7 separate regions of the Homo sapiens genome follow, and all the other regions are linked to region 4. Evidence: promoter capture Hi-C in 16 types of primary human blood cells and fetal thymus (Javierre and others, 2016). All regions are on one chromosome and are shown on one strand. Each heading gives the region's core, a stretch centred on a gene start or on the middle of the fragment in contact. The rest is flanking DNA. Distances are from core to core; before and after follow the strand shown. Region 1 holds the start of ZNF790 (zinc finger protein 790). Region 2 has its middle 5.6 kb from the start of ZNF566-AS1. Region 3 holds the start of ZNF461 (zinc finger protein 461). Region 4 holds the start of ZNF527 (zinc finger protein 527). Region 5 overlaps ZNF260 (zinc finger protein 260). Region 6 holds the start of ZFP14 (ZFP14 zinc finger protein). Region 7 holds the start of WDR87 (WD repeat domain 87).

The links. Contacts are between HindIII fragments. The CHiCAGO score rates a contact against its expected background, and 5 or more counts as called.
Region 1: a contact is called between a fragment that was not itself captured here and the fragment with the promoter of ZNF527 in region 4, in 1 of 17 cell types (neutrophils). The highest score is 5.3, in neutrophils.
Region 2: a fragment that was not itself captured here is called in contact with the fragment with the promoter of ZNF527 in region 4 in 1 of 17 cell types (monocytes); the score reaches 5.3 in monocytes.
Region 3: a contact is called between the fragment with the promoter of ZNF461 here and the fragment with the promoter of ZNF527 in region 4, in 10 of 17 cell types (naive CD4 T cells, non-activated CD4 T cells, total B cells and 7 more). The highest score is 7.4, in naive CD4 T cells.
Region 5: a fragment that was not itself captured here is called in contact with the fragment with the promoter of ZNF527 in region 4 in 1 of 17 cell types (monocytes); the score reaches 6.0 in monocytes.
Region 6: a contact is called between the fragment with the promoter of ZFP14 here and the fragment with the promoter of ZNF527 in region 4, in 15 of 17 cell types (naive CD8 T cells, neutrophils, non-activated CD4 T cells and 12 more). The highest score is 21.8, in naive CD8 T cells.
Region 7: a contact is called between the fragment with the promoter of WDR87 here and the fragment with the promoter of ZNF527 in region 4, in 1 of 17 cell types (activated CD4 T cells). The highest score is 5.1, in activated CD4 T cells.

Annotation. Positions count from the first base shown.
Region 1 is chr19:36,835,802-36,838,945 of GRCh38, reverse strand. ZNF790 (zinc finger protein 790) reads left to right here and starts at 559. Exons shown (of 5, transcript NM_206894.4): 1 at 559-609. The HindIII fragment of the contact is 2,528 bases long and covers 340-2,867 here.
Region 2 is chr19:36,493,615-36,496,939 of GRCh38, reverse strand. It overlaps the pseudogene CTBP2P7. Among named protein-coding and RNA genes, the nearest start is that of ZNF566-AS1, 5.6 kb to the right of the region's middle. The HindIII fragment of the contact is 1,705 bases long and covers 713-2,417 here.
Region 3 is chr19:36,664,958-36,668,242 of GRCh38, reverse strand. It overlaps ZNF461 (zinc finger protein 461), which reads left to right and starts at 1,406. Exons shown (of 6, transcript NM_153257.5): 1 at 1,406-1,553. It also overlaps a transcript of ZNF567 not described here. RefSeq lists an enhancer at 1,100-1,229. The HindIII fragment of the contact is 6,595 bases long and covers 1-3,285 here.
Region 4 is chr19:37,369,759-37,373,241 of GRCh38, reverse strand. ZNF527 (zinc finger protein 527) reads right to left here and starts at 2,143. Exons shown (of 5, transcript NM_032453.2): 1 at 2,016-2,143. RefSeq lists a silencer at 1,744-2,053 and enhancers at 2,084-2,393, 2,564-2,613, 2,634-2,773. The HindIII fragment of the contact is 7,295 bases long and covers 172-3,483 here.
Region 5 is chr19:36,523,421-36,526,729 of GRCh38, reverse strand. ZNF260 (zinc finger protein 260) reads left to right here. Exons shown (of 3, transcript NM_001166037.2): 2 at 1,357-1,575. Among named protein-coding and RNA genes, the nearest start is that of ZNF260, 3.2 kb to the left of the region's middle. The HindIII fragment of the contact is 4,081 bases long and covers 1-3,309 here.
Region 6 is chr19:36,377,927-36,380,983 of GRCh38, reverse strand. ZFP14 (ZFP14 zinc finger protein) reads left to right here and starts at 1,783. Exons shown (of 5, transcript NM_020917.3): 1 at 1,783-1,821. RefSeq lists a silencer at 1,587-1,676. The HindIII fragment of the contact is 12,200 bases long and covers 1-3,057 here.
Region 7 is chr19:37,904,985-37,908,126 of GRCh38, reverse strand. WDR87 (WD repeat domain 87) reads left to right here and starts at 1,533. Exons shown (of 6, transcript NM_001291088.2): 1 at 1,533-1,628. It overlaps SIPA1L3 (signal induced proliferation associated 1 like 3), which reads right to left and starts at 919. Exons shown (of 22, transcript NM_015073.3): 1 at 769-919. RefSeq lists an enhancer at 208-267 and a silencer at 568-807. The HindIII fragment of the contact is 21,411 bases long and covers 1-3,142 here.

The DNA.
Region 1 (3,144 bases), core at 354-2,853, 530 kb after region 4:
TTCTATCCCAGGCTGGTACTTGTGGGACAAGAGGTGTCCACCCAGCCGGGCCGAGGCTCGGGCAGAGACGGGACAGACTCGCCACTCGCTTGGCACAGTCTTGTAGGACTTTCCCGCCATGCCACATAGGTCAGAGGCCCACGCAGCGAGCTCCTACTGAAAACCATCGCACCATCCCCCCGGGGCATTTCTGCAGTGTTCCAGGCTCTGGACTACATTTCCCAGGGCCGTCGGGACCAAGGTTACTTCCAGCCTAAGATGGCCTGGGCTTACTGTCCTGTTCCCAGGGCTGGGAGCCTTTTGCAGAGGTAGGGCAGCCTGCATGCCTCCGCTGAAGCTTCCTAAACGCGGCCTGGAATTCTGGAAGCTCTCGGCAGCAGATGTGAGCGGTGTGTGGGCGATGGTCTTTGCCCAGCGAGGGGATGGGGCTCAAATGCAGGGTCCGTTAATGGTGACCGCGGTGTCCGGGGCAGTTAAAGACGGCCCAGGCTCCGGACTACATTTCCCAGAGTGCACCGTTCCCCGGGCAACTTCCTGTCAGCCCTCTGTCCCTTTAGGGTTAATAGAAAGATCGCGGAACCTTCCACCATCAAGGGACCGCAGGGCCGGGTGAGTGATTCCGAGACACAGAAGCCGAATGACTCCGGAGGGCCCGAGGCCGGGGCTGAGGGGAGTGAGGTGCTAATGTCTTTGGAGTTGGTGGCTTTGCCGGCGAGGGAGCGTGGGGGCGAGCGATCGCGATGGGAGCAGTGGATGCGAGAGTGAAATTGATGCAGGAGCTGGGGCCGCGACGGGAGCTTGTGTGTGTGTGTGTGTATGTGTGTGTGTGTGTGTGTGTGCGCGCACGCGCACACGACGTTGACAGGCGCTGTGTGTGACCCTAATGGACTATTTAAATGTGACTGTATGTACGTGATTATGACTGCGTCGCGTTGTGCGTGACCACGTTCGTAAAGGTGGTGATAGCAGCCGCTATGGGGCCAAAAACAAAGAATTGAGCTTTGCGTTGAGTGACAGGCATAGTCCTTCGTGAATGTGTGGGGAGCAGTTTTTGTGCTGGCCCGTAGCTGGATTGGAGTGGGGGCAACCTAGAAGGAGGGGAGAAGAATGGGACACAGTGTAGACAACATAGTTCAAGAGTTTCTCCGTAAATTAGAGCAGAGAAATGGAGCAGCAGGTTGGGGTAGAGGGCTGGGGAAGACGGCTGGGGAACAACCACCCATCAACATGTTGTTGGAAATGAGCCACGAGAGGGGGGAAAAGTCCAGGCAAGGGTAAGTAAACAAGGCTCATCTGTGTGGGTGTAGTTAAAAATGCAAGAATTAAAAAAAATAGAAAAGGGTAATCGCGCTGCAGAGAGTAAACCATGAGCTGAAGATTTCAGATATAGGGGGAAAATACCCTGTGTTTGGTAGAGGTCAACAAAAGTGAGATGTGGTGAGTTATATACAATCTCATGGCAGGAAATTCAAAACTAGAGTTTGTGGAGGGAGGAAGAAAGGTCTGAAGGTAGTGAACAACAAGGAGGCCGGCCATCTGTTCCATTTTCAGACCCACTGGTAAGAGGCTGTAGCTGGGGAAATGTTGAGAGGGCTGCAGAGTCCTCCAGATACAGCCTAGTTTCTGTTAGACTCAGAATGTTAGGGCGTGTTCAAGGAAGTGGTTGAAGATAAAAGAGGAGTTGGTTGTTAATGAATTATGAATTCCATTATGAAGGCATACAGGAAAAGTGTTGAAAGTTGGGAAGAATGAGAAAAGGGGACAAATGAGACTTGATGGTATACAATGTCCGAAAAGACAGTTGACTAGAAATTCTGGGACTTCTTATAGTAGATAAATATAAATACAAGGTTGGATTGACATTTATTCTGGTTGGATTCAAGTCAGTTTTGGAGAGATAGCGTGGGATAGTGAAAGATGATTTCTTGAGTGTGAGAAACAAACTTACCCGTCCCAAAGAATGGACTCAGAGACCCGGAGAACAGCAAAAGTGAGACTTTTAATGATGGTCTTGCAAGATCAGTGTCTGATAGGCACACCCAACAGTTTCAACAAGCAATTTATCCCCTAGTGCACAGGTTCCTCCCCTGGTTCCTCATAGGCTGATAACTATGGGGTCACAATCTTCCCGGATGTTGCCTATTGATTGTTGGGTAGGGGCTTCAGGTGTTTTGTTTTTTGATTTTTGTGAGACAGAGTCTTGTTCTGTCACCAGGCTGGAGTGCAGTGGTGCAATCACGGCTCACTGCAACCTCCGCCTCCCAGGTTCAAGTGGATTCTCCTGCCTCAGCCTCCCGAGTAGCTGGGACTACAGGTGCGTGCCACCACGCCCAGCTAACTTTTCTATTTTTAGTAGAGATGGGGTTTCACCGTGTCGGCCAGGATGGTCTCGATCTCTTGACTTTGTGATCCGCCCGCCTCGGCCTTCCAAACTGCTGGGATTACAGGCGTGAGCCACCGCGCCCAGCCGGTGTGTGTGTGTGTTTTTTTTTTAGGCTTGTCTTGCTGCATTTGGTTGCGGCCCACAATGCACTGCAATCCTAGTTAGCTCAAGGTCTCTTCAATAGTTGACTTATGACCTAAGCAGCTGGGCAGGCTGATAAAAGCAGACAAAATGAGCTATTTTGCAGGCTAGCAAACTTTCATCTTAGACTAAACTTCTTTGGTTTGGGTGAAGGCAACTAAGTGGGGGAAAGGGAGAAAGCGGGAGGCTGACAAGCAGGCATCATCTATCCAAGCAGGGGCCTAGTATATCCTGTTTCTTCTGTAGTTTGCTTACCTAAGCCAATTCAAGGCATTTTGTCTTGGAAATGGACCACTGTATACATTATTTCCTTCACTGAGTATCTCTCAGAAAGAAGGAAGCTTAAGATAGAAGGGGGGTCAAGGTAGGCAGAATGATGGCCCTGCAACCAATGTTTACTTCCTAATCCCTGGAAACTAGGACGATGCTACTTTATATGGCAAAAAGGACTTTGCAAAGGGGATAAAGTTAAGAACCTTGAAATGGGGGCGATTATCTTGTTGGACTAATATAATGACATGGGTCCTTAAAGTCAGTGAACCTTTCCTGGCTGAGTTTAAAGTCAGAGGGAGATGTGACCGCAGAAGAATGGTCAGAGAGATGCCACATTGCTTACTAGA
Region 2 (3,325 bases), core at 316-2,815, 880 kb after region 4:
AATCGACAGCACCCTAATAAGCAATAGCAGAGAATGCCCAAAGGTAATCATTCAGATACACTTGGGACCATGAGCCAGTGAAAAATAGATGAACTAAGAGAAACAAATTATGGTCTTTTTAACTGATTCTGGACATAGGCATCATTGATGTTGCCGTGCTAAAACTACAAGAACTAGACAACTGAAGATGTCGTCTCTTATGGAAGTGCTGAAAGACTAGGATGTGATTTACTAACAACCGACTTCCGTTATTGTGTGTTAAGTTTTTCATCTGTGCATCAAATCCCAAATAATAAATGGAGCTTTTTTCTTTATCGGTCCCTTGGGCACAGGAGGTCCCGAACACCCTTCTCTAGGATGCTGCATTGAGAGTTCAAACATCGGGCCATGCGCAGTGGCTCATGCCTGTAATCCCAGCACTTGGGAGCCCGAGGCGGGTGGATCACCTGAGGTAAGGAGTTTGAGACCAGCCTGGCCAACATGGTGAAACCCCGTCTCTACTAAAAATACAAAAATTAGCTGGGTGTGGTGGCGAGCGCCTGTAATCCCAGCTACTCCGGAGGCTGAGGCAGGAGAATTGTTTGAACACAGGAGGTGGCAGTAAGCCAAGATCGTGCCACTGCACTCTAGCCTGGGCGAAAGAGCAAGACTGTCTCAAGGAAAAAAGAAAAAGAGTTCAAACATCAAATTAAAAAATATTAAGAGGAAAGCTTCATTCTGTGACTCTAGTCCCGTGACTGTAGTCCCTTCATTCTACAGGGGCTGTTTACCTCTTTTTGCTAGTAGCAAGATCATATAACTACAAAATGTGGAGAAACTGTTTGCCTGTGGTAGATACCTGCACACATAGGATTGAAGACAGTACAGGCTCCTGTGAGACACCTCTGTCCTCTCACATCTGTTTTTTTTGTTTTGTTTTGTTTTGAGATGGAGTCTTGCTCTGTCACCCAGGCTGGAGTGCAATGGCGAGATCTGGACTCACTGCAATCTCTGCCTCCCAGGTTCAAGCGATTCTCCTGCCTCAGCCTCCGGAGTACCTAGGATTACAAGTGTACACCACCACGCCCAGCTAATTTTTGTATTTTTGGTAGAGACTAGGTTCCACCATGTTGGTCAGACTGGTCTCGAACTCCTGACCTCAGGTGACTCGCCCGCCTCTGCCTTCCAAAGTGCTGTGATTACAGGAGTGAGCCACTGCGCCCGGCCCCTCACTCACATCTGAATTGCATACTGAGTGGGCAAGTTGGTTATAAGTTCAGTAAAACCCTCTGATGATGCAAAAAAAAGTATTATGTTTCACAAGCTGTTTGTACTCAAATACATTTTCTCAGTTTCAGATCCTTTCCTATTTTATTGAGTGGAAAGTCTTGAACTAAAAGTGTTCAGGAAGAATAATGTTGCATTTCCTTATGTCTCCTGAAACACTTTTTTTTTTTTTTTTTTTTTGAGATGGAGTCTTGCTCTGTCGCCCGGGCTGGAGTGCAGTGGCACGATCTCGGCTCACTGCAGGCCCTGCCTCCCAGGTTCACGCCATTCTCCTGCCTCAGCCTCCCGAGTAGCTGGGACTACAGGCACCCGCCACCATGCCCGGCTAATTTTTTGTATTTTTAGTAGAGATGGGGTTTCACTGTGTTAGCCAGGATGGTCTCGATCTCCTGACCTCGTGATCCACCCGCCTCGGCCTCCCAAAGTGCTGGGATTACAGGCGTAAGCCACTGCACCCGGCCGTCCCGAAACACTTTTAATGGTAAGTTGTCATATTGTCTATGAAGAAACCCATTTTTTTAAGACATTAATAAATTCTTCTTTTCTTCATGTGATACTTTATACAAGAACACTTCAGATGTATTAGATTTGACTGATTTTAAACAAATCCTATTAGATTTGTATCAACTAGTTACATGTTCTATTCATAGACTTTTGTGAATCATTGCCTTTTTGTTTAAAAAGATGGCCTATTTTCCAGGCACAGTGGCTCATGCCTGTAATCCCAGCACTTTGACAGACCGAGGCAGGCAGATCACCTGAGATCGGGAGTTCGAGACCAGCCTGACCAACATGGAGAAATCCCGTCTCTACTAGAAACCCAAAATTAGCCACGCGTGGTAGTGCATGCCTGTAATCCCAGCTACTTGGGAGGCTGAGGCAGGAGAATTGCTTGAACCCAGGAGATGGAGGTTGTGGTGAGCCGAGATCATGCCATTGCACTCCAGCCTGCCTGGGCAACAAGAGCGAAACTCCAACTCAAAAAAAAAAAAAAAAAAGATGGCCTATTTCAAGCCTTTGCATAGTACATTCCTGTTTTTGTGACAAAAGAAAAACTTTAAAATTGCCCCAAACAGAAAAATAATGGCTATATGTTTTATTCTATTTTAACTTTTTTTTTGAGATGGAGTCTTTGCTCTGTCACCCAAGCTTGAATGCAGTGGCATGATCTTGGCTGGCTGCAACCTCTGCCTCCCAAGTTCAAGCAGTTCTCCTGCCTTGGCCTCCCGAGTAGCTGGTATCACAGGTGTGTGCCACCATGCCTAGCTAATTTTTGTATTTTTAGTAGAGACGGGGTTTCACCATGTTGCCCAGGCTAGTCTCAAACTCCTGACCTCAGGTGATCAGCCCACCTCAGCCTCACAAAGTGCTGGGATTATAGGCGTGAGCCACCAGCCTGGCCCAGTTGATAGTTTCAACTATGTAAATCATTACACTGATTCCTACTGATCATTCTCATTGCCAGCATTCCTGAACTTAAATTGGCTCTGGAAATTCTCCAACCATAGTGAATCCTATTTTCTATGACCCCATAAATATTGGGCATTGTTGCGGTATGTTAGAATACGAGCCCGTGGTTGGGAAAGGCAGTATCATATATGCAGTCTTTCTACCTCTATGTGGCCACATAAGAATGACATCTGACCTGCAACATTTCCTTACCAAGAGATACGGATCCCACATGGGCTGTGCAATGTATTTGTGTTTTAAGCTAAGCGATATTACAGAAAAGTCAAAAAGCTTTTAAAAATTTGAACATTTATAAAGTAGAAAAGTTACAGCAAGCAAGGGTTAATTTATTATGGAAGAAAAACTTTAAATACATGTAGTGTTGCTTAAGTGTACAATGTTTATAAAGTCTAGAGTGTTGTACTGTAATGTCCTAGCCTTCACATTCACTCACCTCTCATCGACTCTCCAGAGCAACTTCCAGTCCTGCAGCCTCCATTCTTGGTAAGTACCCTATACAAGTGTACCATTTTTTACTTTTCATGCTGTTTTTTTTACTGTACCTTTTGTGTGTTTAGATATGTTTAGATACATAAATACTTACCATTGT
Region 3 (3,285 bases), core at 157-2,656, 700 kb after region 4:
CCAGCGCGGTGGCTCACACCTGTCATCCAATACTTTGGCCACTGAGACGGGAGGATCGCTTGAGCCCAGGAGTTCGAGACCACCAGCCTGGGCAACATAGCGAGACCCTGTCTTTACCAAAAAAATAAAAATAAAATAAATCGTTTTGGCCTGACCCGGTGGCTCACGCCTGCTATCCCAGCACTTTGGGAGGTGGATGCGGGAGGAGCTGAGGAGGTGGAGACTGCAGTGAGCTAGGATCGCGCCACCGCAGTCAGCCTGGGCAACAGGGCATGAAGACCCTGTCTCAAAAAGAGGCCGGGCGCGGTGGCTCACGCCTGTAATCCAGCACTTTGGGAGGCCGAGGCGGGCGAATCACGAGGTCAGGAGATCGAGACCATCCTGGCTAACACGATGAAACCCCGTCTCTACTAAAAATACAAAAAATTAGCCGGGCGAGGTGGCGGGCGCCTGTAGTCCCAGCTACTCGGGAGGCTGAGGCAGGAGAATGGCGTGAACCCGGGAGGCGGAGCTTGCAGTGAGCCGAGATTGCGCCACTGCACTCCAGCCTGGGCGACAGCGAGACTCCGTCTCAAAAAAAAAAAAAGAAAAAAAAAAAGTTGAGTGAAATATATGACGTACAGTTTTTTGTTGTTGTTGTTGTTTGTTTTTTCTTGCCCGGGCAACAGGGCAAGAAGACTCTGTCTCTAAATAAATAAATAAATGGAGTCAAATATATGACATACAGTTTTGTTTGTTTGTTTGAGAAGGAGTTGCTCTGTCGCCCAGGCTGGAGTGCAATGGCGCGACCTCGGCTCACCGCAACCTCTGCCTCCCGGGTTCAAGCGATTCTCCTGCCTCAGCCTCCCGAGTAGCTGGGATTACAGGCATGCGCCATCACGCCCGGCTAATTTTGTATTTTTAGTAGAGACGGGGTTTCTCCATGTTGGTCAGGCTGGTCTCGGTGATCCGCCCGCCTTGGCGTGAGCCACCGCGCCCGGCCAAAAAAAAAATTTTTTTTTAAATCGTTTCACATACAAATCTCACGCGCTACACCCTCACCGTCAGTTCATATCCACCTTCTCCTCCGGAGTCACCTTCGGACACGCGCACAACAAAACACCTTTCTCACCACAACTCCACAAAGGGAAGCCGGGTTAGTCCGCGCCCGCCGAAAATTATCTTCAGCCACAGCCCGCGGAGGCCGCCTTGAGGGGTTCGGGGCAGCCACTGTGCCTATTCCGAAATCCGTCCTCAGCGGAACCCGAAGTCCAGAATCCGAAAACGAACATTAACAGGTTGGCGTCACTCCAGCCTCGGGTGAAACTGCGCAAGTGCATCCCGGAGCCCGGCGGAACACACCCGCTCCACCCCAGGCGCTCTCCCCTCGGACTGCATTTCCCAGAGGACACTGCTGTCCACAGCTACTTCCGGTAGGAGCCTCGCAGGAATGGTCTCCGGGTAGAGGCAGGTAAGGATGTCCCGGGCCGGTGGAGAAGGAAGAGCTGGGCGTGTGGCTTCGCTTGGAATCCGAATCAGAGCTTGGACCAGAGCCTTCCCTGAGAATGCTGAAGGTAAGAAATCCTGGCTCACCAGTGCCGCGGAAGGGAATGTCTATAGTTTTAGGCCTCTGAGTGCGGGATCAGCCCTTAGGTGGGTGTGTTTTGAATGCGTGAGGAAGTAGGGTTTCTCTTTGGGCTGTGTGTTACTGTTGGGACAGCGACCTGGTGCGTGGGTGTGCTTTAGTGACAGTGTGATTGTGTGCCTGATCATTTGTGTAAATGGGGTTTGTAGGTGACTGTGACCATGATTGTGAATGGCTATTTGTGTAAATCTCATTTATTTACGTGAAAGAAAAAGCACATTTACAGGCCGGGAGCGGTGGCTCACCCCTGTAATCCCAGCATTTTGGGAGCCCGAAGCGGGTGGATGCCCTGATGTCGGGAGTTCGATACCAGCCTGGCCAACGTGGAGAAACCCCACCTCTACTAAAAATACAAAATTAGCCGGGTATGGTGGTGCATGTCTGTAATTCCAGCTCCTTGGGAGGCTGAGGCAGGAGAATCGCTTGAACCCGGGAGGCGGAGGTTGCTGTGAGCCGAGATCGCGCCATTGCACTCCAACCTGGGCAACAAGAGTGAAACGAAACTGTCTCAAAAAAAAAAAAACAAAAAAACATTCACGTTATCCTCAGGCTCACACGATCAGGCAGAGAGCTTCCACTCCTCTCAGTCAACTCTGGTCTCTCACACACAGACACACGCACATTCACCTCACCCCGCTCCTGTGCACACATCTAAGGCTCAGGACGCCCCACTCCAGAGATCTGTCATTCATCCATCTCTCATCCTTTCCTGACTACTTGAGGAGTTAGCTGTAGATTTACACACACAACACAAGCGAAAATCACATTGCTACCCCGCATTTATCATTACAGCCTCAGAAAAACACCACATATGTAGTATGCTTATGTACCTATGTGTTTGATTTTTTTTTTCTGAGATTTGGCCACAATACACATTGTTCTGCAACTTCCTTTTTTTTTTTTTTTTTTTGAGACGAAGTTTCTCTCTTTCACCGTGGCTGGAGTGCGGTGGCGCGATCTCGGCTCACTGCAACCTCCGCCTTCGGGTTTTAAGCAGTTCTCCTGCCTCAGCCTCACGAGTAGCTGGGATTACAGGCATCCGCCACCACACCCAGCTAATTTTTGTATTTTTAGTAGAGACGGGATTTCACCATGTTGGCCAGGCTGGTCTTGAGCCCCTGACCTCGTGATCCGCCCGCATCTGCCTCCCAAAGTGTTGGGATTACAGGCGTGAGCCACCGCGCCCGGCCTCTGCAACTTCTTACTAAAAGATATTTATGTCCTTTTGTCTGTATTCAAAGACAAACTTAAGAATATTTTTCAGGATGTTTCCAGGTATGATTCTTCTTTAATTCTTACAGCACTGTACTTCAAACTAAAGACTCAAGAATTTATTTTGGTCTGCAAATTTTTGTTCTATTTATTTTTTCTCTTCCATCTGTGTTGTTTCAGCCTCTATTTTTGAAATTTCTGTTACACATACACTGGGTCTTTTGGGTCTGTTTTCTGTTTCCCTAATCTTTTCTCATAATGTTCATTACCTTTTCTTTTTCCTCTTAATTCAGTGAAAATCTACCCAGTGCAGTTCTCAGCACCCTGATCCTGGCTTCGATTTCATCATAGTATTGGGACAATGGGCTGGCCTAACTATCCCTTCTGCTGAAGGGCATGATCCTTGCTTTTCTTGAGTCTATCCTGCTGTAGCTGAGTTTCCTCATGGT
Region 4 (3,483 bases), core at 894-3,393:
CTCTCACACACACAGCCGTATTAGCACAAAGATAGAGAGACTGTCACACATGGTTATCTCATTGTGTCATTATCTCATTTAATCCTCAGAACTACTACTGCTCCACAAAACTACAAAGATAGGTATTAATATCTCCACTTTACTGGTAGTAAAAGGGAGGTTCCAGAAGCTTAAACAACCAACTCAAAGTCCGGGGTCCAACTGAAATGTGACCTCAAAACCAGTCCTCTTTTGAGAGGCCACGATGTCTGAATGGGAAATATTCAACACAACCCGAGTAATCAATGCCATATATTCCTTAGAGAGGCATCTTTAGAGATGGCAGGTGTTACCTTTATTTCTCTACAGAAATGCAGCCTGAGGGAAACATCGCCAAATTTTAATACTAAAGCAACAACAAACTGGGCAATCTGAAGTAAGTTCCTTGTCCTCTTAGAGCCAACATTTCTTCATTGTAAAAATAGAGACAGGCTGGGCACAGTGGCTCACACCAGTAATCCCAGCACTTTGGGAGGTCAAGGTGGGCAAATCACTTGAGACTAGGAATTCAAGACCAGCCTGGGCAACATGGCAAAACCCCATCTCCTCAAAAAGTACAAGAATTAGTTGGGCGTGGTGGCATGTGTCTGTAGTCCCAGCTACTTGGGAGGCTGAGGTGGGAGGCTTGATTGAACCCAGGAGGTAGAGGGTGCTGTGAGCCGAGATTGCACCACTGCACTCTAGCCTACAGGACAGAGCAAGACTCTGTCTCAAAAAAAAAAAAAAAAAAAAAAAGAAAAGAAAAGAAAAGAAAAGAAAGGGACAACTGTGGTTGACCTAGAATTCAGTATACATCACCCCCTAATTTCACCCCCTAATTCTGGACTACTTTGCACTAGGCAACTCAGTCCCTAGCAGTTATTTCCTTAGTGTAGTGCAGCTTGAAATTGTCCATAAAAACTGCAGCAGGGCGCAGCGCCTCACGCCTGTAATCCCAGCACTGTGGGAGGCTCTGGTGGGCGGATCATGAGGTCAGGAGTTGGAGACCAGCCTGGCCAAACATGGTGAAACCTCGTCTCTACTAAAAATACAAAAACTAGCTGGGCGTGGTGGTGCGCGCCTGTAATCCCAGCTACTTGGGAGGCTGAGGCAGGAGAATCACTTGAACCTGGGAGGCGGAGGTTGCAGTGAGCCGAGATCGCATCATTGCACTCCAGCCTGGGCAATAGAGTGAGACTCCATCTCAAGAGAAAAAAAAAAAAAAAAGCGAGACCTCTAGAGCTAAACTGCTTGGGTTTGAGTTCTGGTGCTGTCACTTGTTAACTGTGTGAACTTGGGTAATTCTAATATTTCTGTGCTTCATACATCAATCCCACAATCTCATATATACACACAAATTCTCACCCAATCACAAATGTATAGAGTCACACAAACACACCCATAATCTCACACAATACACAGCCACATAAGCACAAAGATAGATGGTAACATACAACTACACCAACAGAGATAAACAATCACACACAATCACACACAAAGTAGCATACCACAGAAGTCACACATCTTGTCACAATTACTGATACAAAACTATACCTGCGGAGACAGATGGTCATAGTCGCACAATCACACTTGCTGTCACACACATTCAAACGCAATTGTATCCGCAGAAACAGGTGGTCACATAACCACACACATGCATTTACACAAACACACAATGTCACACCCCAGTCTCTCATAAACACATACACAGCTACACCTGCAGAGACAGTCACACACAAACACACATATTCACAGTTTCACCCCCAGACACAGATGGTTACAGTCACACACAAGCGGGCGCACGCGCACAAACACACACACACAGTGACACAAGATCACATTCTGTCACACCCGCAGCCTGTCACATAGTTGGTAATACAGTGAAACACACACGGCCTCCCCAGCGACTCCTGCCGGGTTCCCATCCCTGGCGCGGCCGGGCCACCCGGAGCCCGCCCTTGACTTCCCGCTCCCGCCCGGGGCCCGGCCCCACTCACCTCCCGGCGCCGCGGGCTCTGCAAACGGGCCCCGCGACCGAGACCCGCGACGTCACCTCCCAGAATCCTCCGCGAGGAGGAGCGAGGCGAGGACTGAGGCATGCAGGACTCTGAGCTCTGCGAGATCTGAACCAGCGACACCGCGTTCCCCATGGACCCCGCGAACCACGAGCCCCAGAACGCTTTGCGCCACGGCCGTCATCGTTGAACTACATCTCCCAGAGAACCCCGCGGCCCCCTCCACTGCGCGCCTGCGCCACGGGGGCAGGTACCGGAGAGGGCTGTGTGCGGTCGTAGGCTCTCCAGTGACCTTGAGCTGCTGTGTTGGGGAAAGCGGCCAGGCTGCGCGCGGGGCTGACTGGTTGAATGCTTGGGTGTGGTGGTTCGTGTGTGACTGTTGCTGCACACCTTTATGCTTGCCGACGAAAGGAGCGGCGGATTTTGTCAGTGCAGGGAGCTTCTGTATTTTAAATCACGTCCCGTGATTGTGGGTAGCTGAATGTGAAAGTGATTGTGGATGAAAGAGACTGTGGCTGACATTGGGGGTGACCGTTTCTGTTACTGTGAGGATACCACTGATCCGATGTGTATCTGACTGTCTCCTGGTCTTACTGTTCCTTCACCCCCATCTCCTGCCATGGGCGGGGTCTGTGGTATCTTTTATTGAGGCAATCTCGGCGCTCACTGCAACCTCCGCCTCCCGGGTTCAAGCGATTCTCTTGCCTCAGCCTCCTGAGGAGCTGGGATTACAGGCACCTGCCACCACGCCCAGCTAATTTTTGTATTTTTAGTAGGGATGGGGTTTCACCATGTTGGCCAGGATGGTCTTCATCTCCTGAACTTGTGATCCACCTGCCTCGGCCTCCCCAAGTGCTGGGGTTACAGGCATGAGCCATCGCACCCGGCCTATTTTATTATTATTATTATTTCTCAATTGGTCAAAATAATATATTTAACATTTTAATATTATTAAACATACAAAAGGCCACACTTTGGCCCTCCTCTAGTCAAGCAGTTTCCTTCCTGGTGAAAGTCCATAGGCAGAAACATGCCTGCAAAGATCTCACAACCTTCTTTCAGACCATGCTCTGGGTATCCAAATCCCCAGGATTTCCTGTTCAAATGGACTCCAGCCTGCTTCCAGAGCCTGTATCTCCTCTGTGTCCAAAGACCCTTCCCTTGATCTGTCTTCCAAAGGTGGAATGTGCTGCCTATCCACAAAATGTGGCCAAATGAGAGCAATTTGGTAAGGCTAGACAGAGCTTAGATATGCAAGCTGGAGTGTCCACATGTGGGAATAGAAGACCTCTTACGATGTGGGACAAGGATGGCAGTGGGAACAGAAGGGGACTGGCTGGGGACCTCCATCTGTACTGTTGACCCAGGTCTCTACATGTCAATGACAGGCTCATTTATGTATAAACTATTTTGGAGACCAATGGTCTTATGATGATGGTGGTTTGAATTA
Region 5 (3,309 bases), core at 783-3,282, 850 kb after region 4:
TGTATCTGTACGTGTACAGATTTTTTTTTCTTGTCATGATTCCCTAAACAATACAGTATAACAACTATTTACCAGACATTTACGTTGTATTACGTATGATAAGTAATCTGGAGATAATTTTAAAGTATATGGGAGGATGTGCATAGGTTATATGTAAATATACTTCCATTCACTTTATTTTTATTTTTTTGAGATGGAGTCTCACTCTGTCACCCAGACTGGAGTGCAGTGGTGCAATCTCGGCTCACTGCCACCTCTGCCTCCTGGGTTCAAGCGATTCTCCTGCCTCAGCCTCCCAAGTAGCTGAGGTACAGGTGTGTGCCACCATGCCCAGCTAATTTTTTTATTTTTAGTAGAGACAGGGTTTCACCATCTTGGCCAGCCTGGTCTCGAACTCCTGACCTCAGGTGGTCAGCCTGCCTCAGCCTCCCAAAGTGCTGGGATTACAGGCGTGAGCCACCATGCCTGGCTTTATATTTGAAGTATAAGGGACTTGAGCATCTGCAGATTTTGGTATCCACAGTGATCCTGGAACCAATCTCCTGTGATATCAAGGGAAGATTATTATTATAGGACACTTACTATATTTAACTTCTCCTAGTTAATCTAAGTAAAATATTAGTCCTCTAAATTTTTTAGAGCTCTGACCTATAAATACCATCAGAATAATTTCCTGTATTTTTTTCCATATCACTCAAGGTTGGTTACTTCAGACTTATGAGAAAAGTGTTATGGGGAAAAATTATATGCAAAGATGTGACTTCACTCAGGAGCAAGGTCACAAGTGACACCTGCTCGAAGGAACCTATACAGGTTGTGATTGTGGATAACTCTGGCATCTTAGTCTCTCATAGTTTCTCTGTGTAACCTAAATTCTGAAAATAAGGTCCCTTCTGTTTCTCATTTTTGAAATGTTTAGAGCTTTTTTTTTTTTTTCCTTCCTTGAGATGGAGTCTCCACTGTCGCTTAGGCTGGTGTATAGTGGCGTGACCTTGGTTCAGTGCAACCTCTGCCTCCTGGCTTCAAGTGATTCTCTTGCCTCAGCCTCCTGAGTAGCTGGGACTACAGGCATATGCCACCACGCCTGGCTAATTTTTGTATTTTTAGTAGAGACAGGGTTTCACCATGTTGGCCAGGCGGGTCTCGAACTCCTAATCTCAAGTGATCTGCCTGCCTCGGCCTCCCAAGGTGCTGAGATTACAGACGTGAGCTTCCATGCCCGGCCATTGAAATGTGTAGAGCTTTTGAATGGCATAATGGGTCTGGCCTGAGGTGCTATGTACAAATACTGTTTTTCCATTTGCTCACATGTAGGTCAAAGCCAAAGAATCATCATTACTTTGTTCTTTTTCACAGGCCTGCTTCCTTGTATATCCACAGGAGCTGCAAAACCTCTTAGAGTTCTAAGGGCGCTCCCTGAATTTTGGGATGCTGCTTTGTTCCCCAACCATAACATCCAAGTCCAGTGTCATTTTTCTGCTCACAAGTTTAAAGTCAGCACTTAAAAGAACAGCAACAGATGATTGAGAAAGAAATGTAAAGAAGGTTCTCTTTGTGTGAGTAAGCAAGAACCTGGTAGGTATGAATGAGATAAAGACTTATTGCAGTTATTCAGTGAGAATTTGCAGCCTCTGAGTTGTTGTGGGGTTTTTTTGTTTGTTTGTTTGTTTGTTTTTTTGAGATTTTCGTACTAGCCTTTGTCTTTTAGAGTGACTGTTGCTGGGAATTCTTTAGATACCTAAATGACATTTCCAGACTGTCTTCCTGAATCTATGCATCCCTTTTATCAGATTCTAGAGGACTGATTGCTCTTCTAAAATCTATTCTGGATGCCAGTCATTCTACATCATTTGCAGCCTCAATTTTATGATTTTTTTACAGCCTCAATTTCACTTTTCTTCCTTTCACTAACATTCTCCATTTTTCACTTTTCCCTGTATGCCTAGATGCGTTTCCTTAAGCATTCAGTCCTTCATAGATCTGTTAGTTTTCAAAAACTAGCATGTCGTTAAGAGTCATCACCACTCCCTAATCTTAAGTACCCAGGGACACAAACACTGCGGAAGGCCGCAGGGTCCTCTGCCTAGGAAAACCAGAGACCTTTGTTCACTTGTTTATCTACTGACCTTCCCTCCACTATTGTCCTATGACCCTGCCAAATCCCCCTCTGCGAGAAACACCCAAGAATGATCAATAAAAAAAAAAAAAAAAACTAGCATGTAAGTTATTTTCTTTAAAATGTAATCATTCTGGCCAGGCGTGGTGGCTCACGCCTGTAATCCCAGCACTTTGGGAGGCCGAGGCTGGCGGATCACGAGGTCAGGAGATCACGACCATCCTGGCTAACACGGTGAAACCCCGTCTTTACTAAAAATACAAAAACAAAATTAGCCAGGTGTGGTGGCGGGCGCCTGTAGTTCCAGCTACTCAGGAGGCTGAGGTGGGAGAATGGCGTGAACCTGGGAGGTGGAACTTGCAGTGAGCTGAGATTGTGCCAGTGCACTCCAGCCTGGGCAACAGAGTGAGACTCTGTCTAAAAAATAATAATAATAAATAAAATAAATTAATCATTCTATGTATAACTATTATGTATCAATAAAAAAACTTTCAAAGACTAGCAAGTAGATTCTTTTCTTTACATTTTAACTTTCTATCATTCTTTCTCCTTCCATTGTTATATTCCTCAGAATTGAATTTTGCTTCCTTACTCTTGTTTTCTATTGTCTTCCTACCTCCAGCCATCATAGTTCAACACTATGTCACCTCCTGCTTTTTAACAATATTACAGGCTTAGGGATTAGTGCTGACTTCCTATTAGTTCATTACCCTGTTAATTTTAAAAAGAAATAATAATGGCTGGGTATGGTGGTGCACGCCTGTAATCCCAGCACTTTGGGAGGCTGCGGCAGGTGGATCATGAGGTCAGGAGTTTGAGACCAGCCTGACCAACATGGTGAAACCCAGTCTCTACTAAAAATACAAAAATTAGCCTGGCGAGGTGGCACACGCCTGTAATCCCAGCTACTCAGGAGCCTGAGGCAGAAGAATCACTTGAACCTGGGAGGCGGAGGTTGCAGTGAGCCGAGATCATGCCACTGCACTCCAGTCTGGGCGACAGAGTGAGACTCCCATCTCAAAAAAAAAAAAAAAAAGAAATAATACTATTATTATCAAAATTTAATATGTATACTTGATAGAAAATTAAAACAATCAGGTATGTCTCTTCATTCCTGGCCCTCAATCCCCTGTTTCCCAGAAGCAGCCACTGTTAACAGTGTCTGCTGTATGCTTCTAAATGTTTTTATGAGG
Region 6 (3,057 bases), core at 534-3,033, 990 kb after region 4:
GGTAGGGTGACAGAACAAGACTTTGTTTCAAAAAAAAAAAAACTTAGTCAAAACAGAGAATATGGAGGAGCTATTTTAATAATTCTTTTTATTGTTTTTTTAATGGAGTGTTGATTTCCTTACATAAATTTAATTGTAAACATGTACATAGGACCGTGATTTTGAATTAAAAAAATACTTTGGGCCTTCGGCCTTCTTAGTAGTTTTTTTTGTTTTGTTTTGTTTTCGTTTTTGTTTTGATACGGCGTCTTGCTCTGTCGCCCAGGCTGGAGTGCAGCTGCACGATCTTGGCTCACTGCAACCTCCGTCTCCCTGGTTCAAGCGATTCTTCTGCCTCAGCCTCCCGAGTAGCTGGGACTACAGGTGTGCGTCACCATGCCCAGCTAAATTTTTTTGTATTTTTAGTAGAGACGGGGTTTCACCATGTTGGCCAGGCTGGTCTCAAACCCCTGACCTCAGGTGATCCACCCGCCTCGGCCCCCCGAAAGTGATGGGATTATAGGCGTCAGCCACCGCGTCTGGCCACCTTCTTAGTAGTTATAAAGTAGCTCAGATTTTTCATTTATCTCCTATTTCATGCATATCCTATTGTTTGCAAAATGAAACCAGATTGCCGAGGCATTTTCAAATATCTTCTAAAGTTTTATATTCTTAAGGAAAGAACAAATTCTTTCATGTATTAACTAATATATCAAAGAATTTGGGATACAGAAGATGCCTCAGGGTGGTCCCTGGTGGGCTTATCCCATTTCTTTCCTGAAGGAACGCAGGACAGGACAAATTCAGTCTCATTGGAGACAGACCTCTCCAGTTAGTCTTTTTCTTTTGAAACGGAGTTTCGCTCTTGTTGCCCAAGCTGGGGTGCAATGGCGGATCTCAGCTCAATGCAACCTCCGCTTCCCGGGTTCAAGCGATTTTCCTGCCTCAGCCTCCTGAGTAGCTGGGATTACAGGCGCGCGCGACCACGCCCGGCTAATTTTTTGTATTTTTAGTAGAACAATACATTCACAACTGCAGGAGATACGAGACACACACACACACACACACACACACACACACACACACACACACAGAGACAGAGACAGAGTGGGAGAAAGGGAGAGGGCAGTGAGCACGAGCGACCTTTCTAGGTTTACGTCCTGCTCCAGGTTCTGGTGGGCTTTGAGAGTATTTTCATTGCATGCCTGATGTGTGCCCACACCTTGCTTGGGTGTATGCAGTGAGTAACTGGTAGGTGTTTAGTACACATATTAGGCATCTGCTGGTGCCAAAACTTCTTTCTAAATCCTCCGCGGCTGAGCCTGGTGGCTCACGCCTGTAGTCCCAGCACTTTGGGAGGCTCAGGCGGGAGGATCTTTTAAGCCCAGGAGTTCGACACCGGCTTGGGTAACATAGGGAGATCTGGTCTCTATAAAAACTTAAAAAATGAGTTGGGCGTGGTGGCGCGCGCCTGCAGTCCCAGCTACTCTGGAGGCTCGGGTGGGAGGGTCGCTTGAGCCCGGGAGGTCGCGGCTGCAGTGAGCTCTAATCACGCCACTGCACTCCAGCCTGGGCGACAGAGTAAGACCCTGTCTCAAGAAAATAAACAAATAAAAGTCTTCCTCAGCGACAAAAGCAAACGCAAGCCCGAGCTCGCCTCAGCCCCACGCAGCGCGGAGGGCCTTCCCGCCCCGAGCGCACCCGGGGCTCCGGCCCCCGCGCATGCGCACTCCGCGCAGCCCGTTGGGGCTGGAACCAGTCCCTCCCATCGGCGGACTACATTTCCCACAGGCCTCCGCTCGCAGTTCTTTCCGGCTTCGCTGCTGGTGTCGGCTCCGAGAGGTGAGTTGGTCGCTTGCACCGAGGCAATGGGCGCGGGGGTGGCGCGGGGGCGGCGCAGACCTCAGTGTGAGCCAGGAGGCAGTAGCTGTGGAGTTTGTGGCGCTGACTGGGCGCCGGGTGCCCTGTTGCGTCCTCTGCCTTCTCGCTTCAGAGCCGCCCAGGTCCAGCGGCCCGGAATGGCTCCGAGTTAGATACAGGAACCCCGGAGTGAATGAAGGCCCCCAAACAAAAAGACGCAGTCTGAAGAACTGCAGATTGCACAGCTTTACCCGAGCTCCCTCCCATGGAAACTGCGGGGAACTCGGAGACAGATCCCAGCCCCGTCTTCGTGTACCTGGCCTTTCGCTCTGATACGGGAAAGGGTCAGCTTTATTCCAGGCTCCCTGTTATTTCCATCGGGTTTTGCGCGCAGTAGACGGAGGGAGCAAGTGCGCTAGCGGGGGTGTGTCCTGCTCAGCCAAGGCCGGCTCCAGGAAAGGCCCGCGGTCTCAAGATTCCCGTCTCCTTTCCCAATCCTGCTGTTCTTTAGGAAGGCAGCGGGGAGAGGAGGAAATGATTGCTGTTGCATATAGACAAGTCAACATCCAGATGAGTTTGTGTTTCCGTTTTGTTCCATGAAGTGTAATTTTTATTTTTTCTGGGCGTGGGGGCATTTGCTTTCCTCTTCTGTGGAATGAAAATCAGCTCGGACTGAACAATGAAGCAGCTCTGTCATTAATCAGGCTAGGAAGGAAGAGACAGATAAAGCCAGTTGCAAAATTAATAGAAAACATGATTTCTCCCCAGGTGGTGCAGTAGTTGTAAAATGGCATAATGACTCCCTCTTTGAGAGATTACAGTTTTCTTACCAGTGATGTTCTAGACTTGCTTTGCTGTTTTCATTTTATTACTGGGGATACCCTCTTGATTACACTCATGATTGCATTCAATATCTCATTAATCCCTGCCTCTCCTAATCTCACCTCGGAAACAGCAGCCATTCCAGATTGCAGCTGTCATTAGATCCTCCTTAGAATCTTTCAGCTGGAACTCAACCGTTTACGAAAGAGCTTTTCTCGTCTCTCTCGTCCATTCTATTCCAACCCTTCCTGTGGAATTTTCTCCCTTTCTGCCAGTCAATAGATATGATTTTGTCAGACTATGCGGGCTTGTTCCAGTTAATCTTCAGCTAGTTAGACTTTAACCCCTGAAATGTCCTGTCCACTGACCTGGTGCTTTGGCCTTCCTTCCCAGTGA
Region 7 (3,142 bases), core at 284-2,783, 540 kb before region 4:
CCATTTACTGAGCGTTATATGCCAGCTGCTGTGCTAAGCACTTTACACATGGTATTCTCACTGCATCCTGAAAACAACTCGACGAAGTGGTTGCTATTTAAATCCCCATTTTATAGATAGGGAAACCAAGGCACAGAGAGGTGAAGCCAGTTGCCCAAAGTCACACAGCTGGTAAATGTTCAAATTTGAACCTGGGGTCTCTCTGCCTTCCAAACCAACGCTCTTAACAAAATAATCTCGGTTAACAGCAGCTAGCCTGCATTGGGTGCTAACTAAGGACTCACCTCTTTACATGCACACGCTCAACTAATCCTCACCCTATGCAATCGATAACATCTTCACCTCATTTTTCGGAGAGCTAACAATAACCCAAATACGTAGTAAGTGCCTCCTATGTGCCAAATGTTTTATTATATTATCTCAACAGAGTCTCCGCCAAGATGCTCTCCTACTCCGTTTTACTGCAGGGGAAATTGAGGTTCGGCGCGGTTTTCCCAGATCGCGGCTCCCGAGTGGCACAGCCGGGACGCGAATCCACCGCTCCCCGCCTCCAAGCTCTTCACCACAGCGCCGGGGTGCACGCCTGGAAAGTTGAGCCATGCGGGCACGAGTCCGGCTGGGTCCGGAGGGCGCGAGTCCCGGCGCCGCCGCCCCCCACGGCCAGTACCCACACCCGGCCGTCCGCCCGCGCTGACCCTCGGGGTCCGGGCAGCCACCGATTCCCCGCCACCCTTGCGCGAGGCCGATCCTGCACCCGGAGCCACGTACCTGGACGCCCCGGCTGCCCGCCTCGCGGGCCCCACGATCGCGGCGTCCAGCTCCGCGCCGCTCGCTGGAGACGCCGCCAGCTCCGGTGGCCCGAGTGACTTCCAGGCTGCCCACTTCCAAGCCGCTTCGCGCGAGTCCTCCTGGGAACTGTAGTTTCGCCCTAGCCGGCCGCGAACTCAAAAAGAGAATGGCGCGCGGGGGCTGCCGGGAGCCGTAGGCGCACCGCCGCGCTGCCTCCTAGGAACGGTAGTCCGCTGGTCGCCTTCGTGCAGCTCCAGTCTGTAGAGCACTTCCGCAGCCCCGAGGGGCGTGAGGGAGGGAGGTGTGTCTCCTGCAGACTACAGCTCGAGAGCCGCGCTCTTCGCCCCGCCGGGGCGGTTTCTCCTTTCTCCTGGCCCCGTCTACCTCCTCCCTTCATTCGGCGGAACCTCTCCCTCACTCTCTGCCAGGCTCGAGTCACTTACCCCTAGGACGCTAGCCCGGGGGAAACGGGGGAAGCGGAGCAGTGCGCTAGACCCCCAGCGGAGGGGGCGGTGGAGGAGGGCGTAGATGCACGCCCGCGCACGCGCGGTCGTCGGCAGACCCCGGCCTAAATTGCCGCGGGACCCCGCGGAGAGGATTTTTTTTTTTTTTCTTTCGAGAGCGCGCGCGCGTTCTCGCGCCGGGCGCGCGCCCATGCGCACGCGCGTTCAGACCCCTGGCCTCGGGAAGTCCGCCGGCTGCGGGGTTGGGGGCCAACCGTTCTGTGGGCGGAGTCCTCTCGCAACATCCGCCAGGTAGCTTCTTAGTTGCTGCCCCTAGCTCTAGGAGCTCCTGAGTGCACACGCCGTACCCGTCCCTTGTCGGGAATCCTGTCGCAGGTAACAGGCGCAGCCAATGCTTTGAGATAGAGACGCCCTGCCTTCCCTGCCACGTGCAGGAGGCCCGAGGGTGAGGGGCCCCAGGTGTAGTCGCCTGTCCCCGGCGTAGGCGGCTCCAGAGCTCTGCCTTCGACGGGAGCCACAAGACCCAGGGGCTGCCTAGGGGCCTTGTTATCTTGCATTCTTTTGTTGATCGCACATTCCTGAGGGTAACTAGTGTTTGTAGAGTACCTACACCTTGGGAAATTTTGTCCAAATTTAATCCACCTGGTGACATAACCAAGCAGCGGAATACCCCGCAACACACACTCCTTTTTTAAGGTATATTGCCACTCCTCCATAAGAGTTACCGAGGGAATTGACTGGAATTGCAAGGTCCTCTGGTGGAGAAGCCGGAGTCAATACCCTTTCCGCCTCAGCCTGCCTTCTAGGAAGATGTTCACTAACACTTGAAGCTGGGAAGCATATGTTTCTTCCTGGGAGAGCACATTTTTCCACTCATTCAACAAAAATGGATTAACCACCTATTCCATGTCAGGTTGGGTGATTATGGAGACACAAGAGAAATCCAGACAGACTGGACTCCTACCTTCAGGGAGTTTTCAGTCCAGTAGGGATATCAGGCCACCACCAGACTACAACAATGTAGAGCAATACTAGCTAAGAGAAATATACCCTGCACTTTGAGCCACCGAGGCAGGAGGATCACTTAAGGCCAGGAGTTGGAGACTGGCCGGGTAACATAGCAAGACCCTATCTCTACTAAAACTAAAAAACTAGCTAGGCGTGGTGGCATGTGGCCATAGTCCCAGCTATTTAAGAGGCTGAGTATCGCTTAAGCCCAGGAGTTTGAGACTGCAGTGAACCATGATTGCACCACTGCCCTCCAGCTTGGGCGACAAAGCAGAACCCTGTCTCTTTAAAAAAAAAAAAAATTATATATGTGTGTGTTTTTATGTGTAATGCAAGCCACATATGCAATTTTAATTTTGACATAAACAGGTAAAATTCATTTTATTTATCATTATTATTTACTTTTTTTTTTCTTGCTATGTTGCCCAGGCTGGTATTGAACTCCTGGCCTCAAGACATGTTCCTACCTCAGCCTCGCAAAGTGCTGGGATTATAGGCGTGAGCCATCTCACCCAGCTATGAAATTAATTTTAATATTTTATTTAACCCAAATATATCCAAAATATTATTCCAAGTTAGGTTAATGGAAAAATGTTTTCATTGCTTCAGTTCTACTTTTTTTTTTTTTTTTTTTGGAGACGGAGTCCCACTCTGTCGCCAGGCTGGAGTGCAGTGGCGCCACCTCGGCTCCCTGCAACCTCTGACTCCCTGGTTCAAGTGACTCTCCTGCCTCAGCCTCCCAAGTAGCTGGGATTACAGGCAGGCGCCATCACACCCAGCTAATTTTTGTATTTTTAGTAGAGACTGGGTTTCACCATGTTAGCCAGGATGGTCTCGATCTCCTGACGTGATCTGCCAGCCTCGGCCTCCCAAAATGCTGG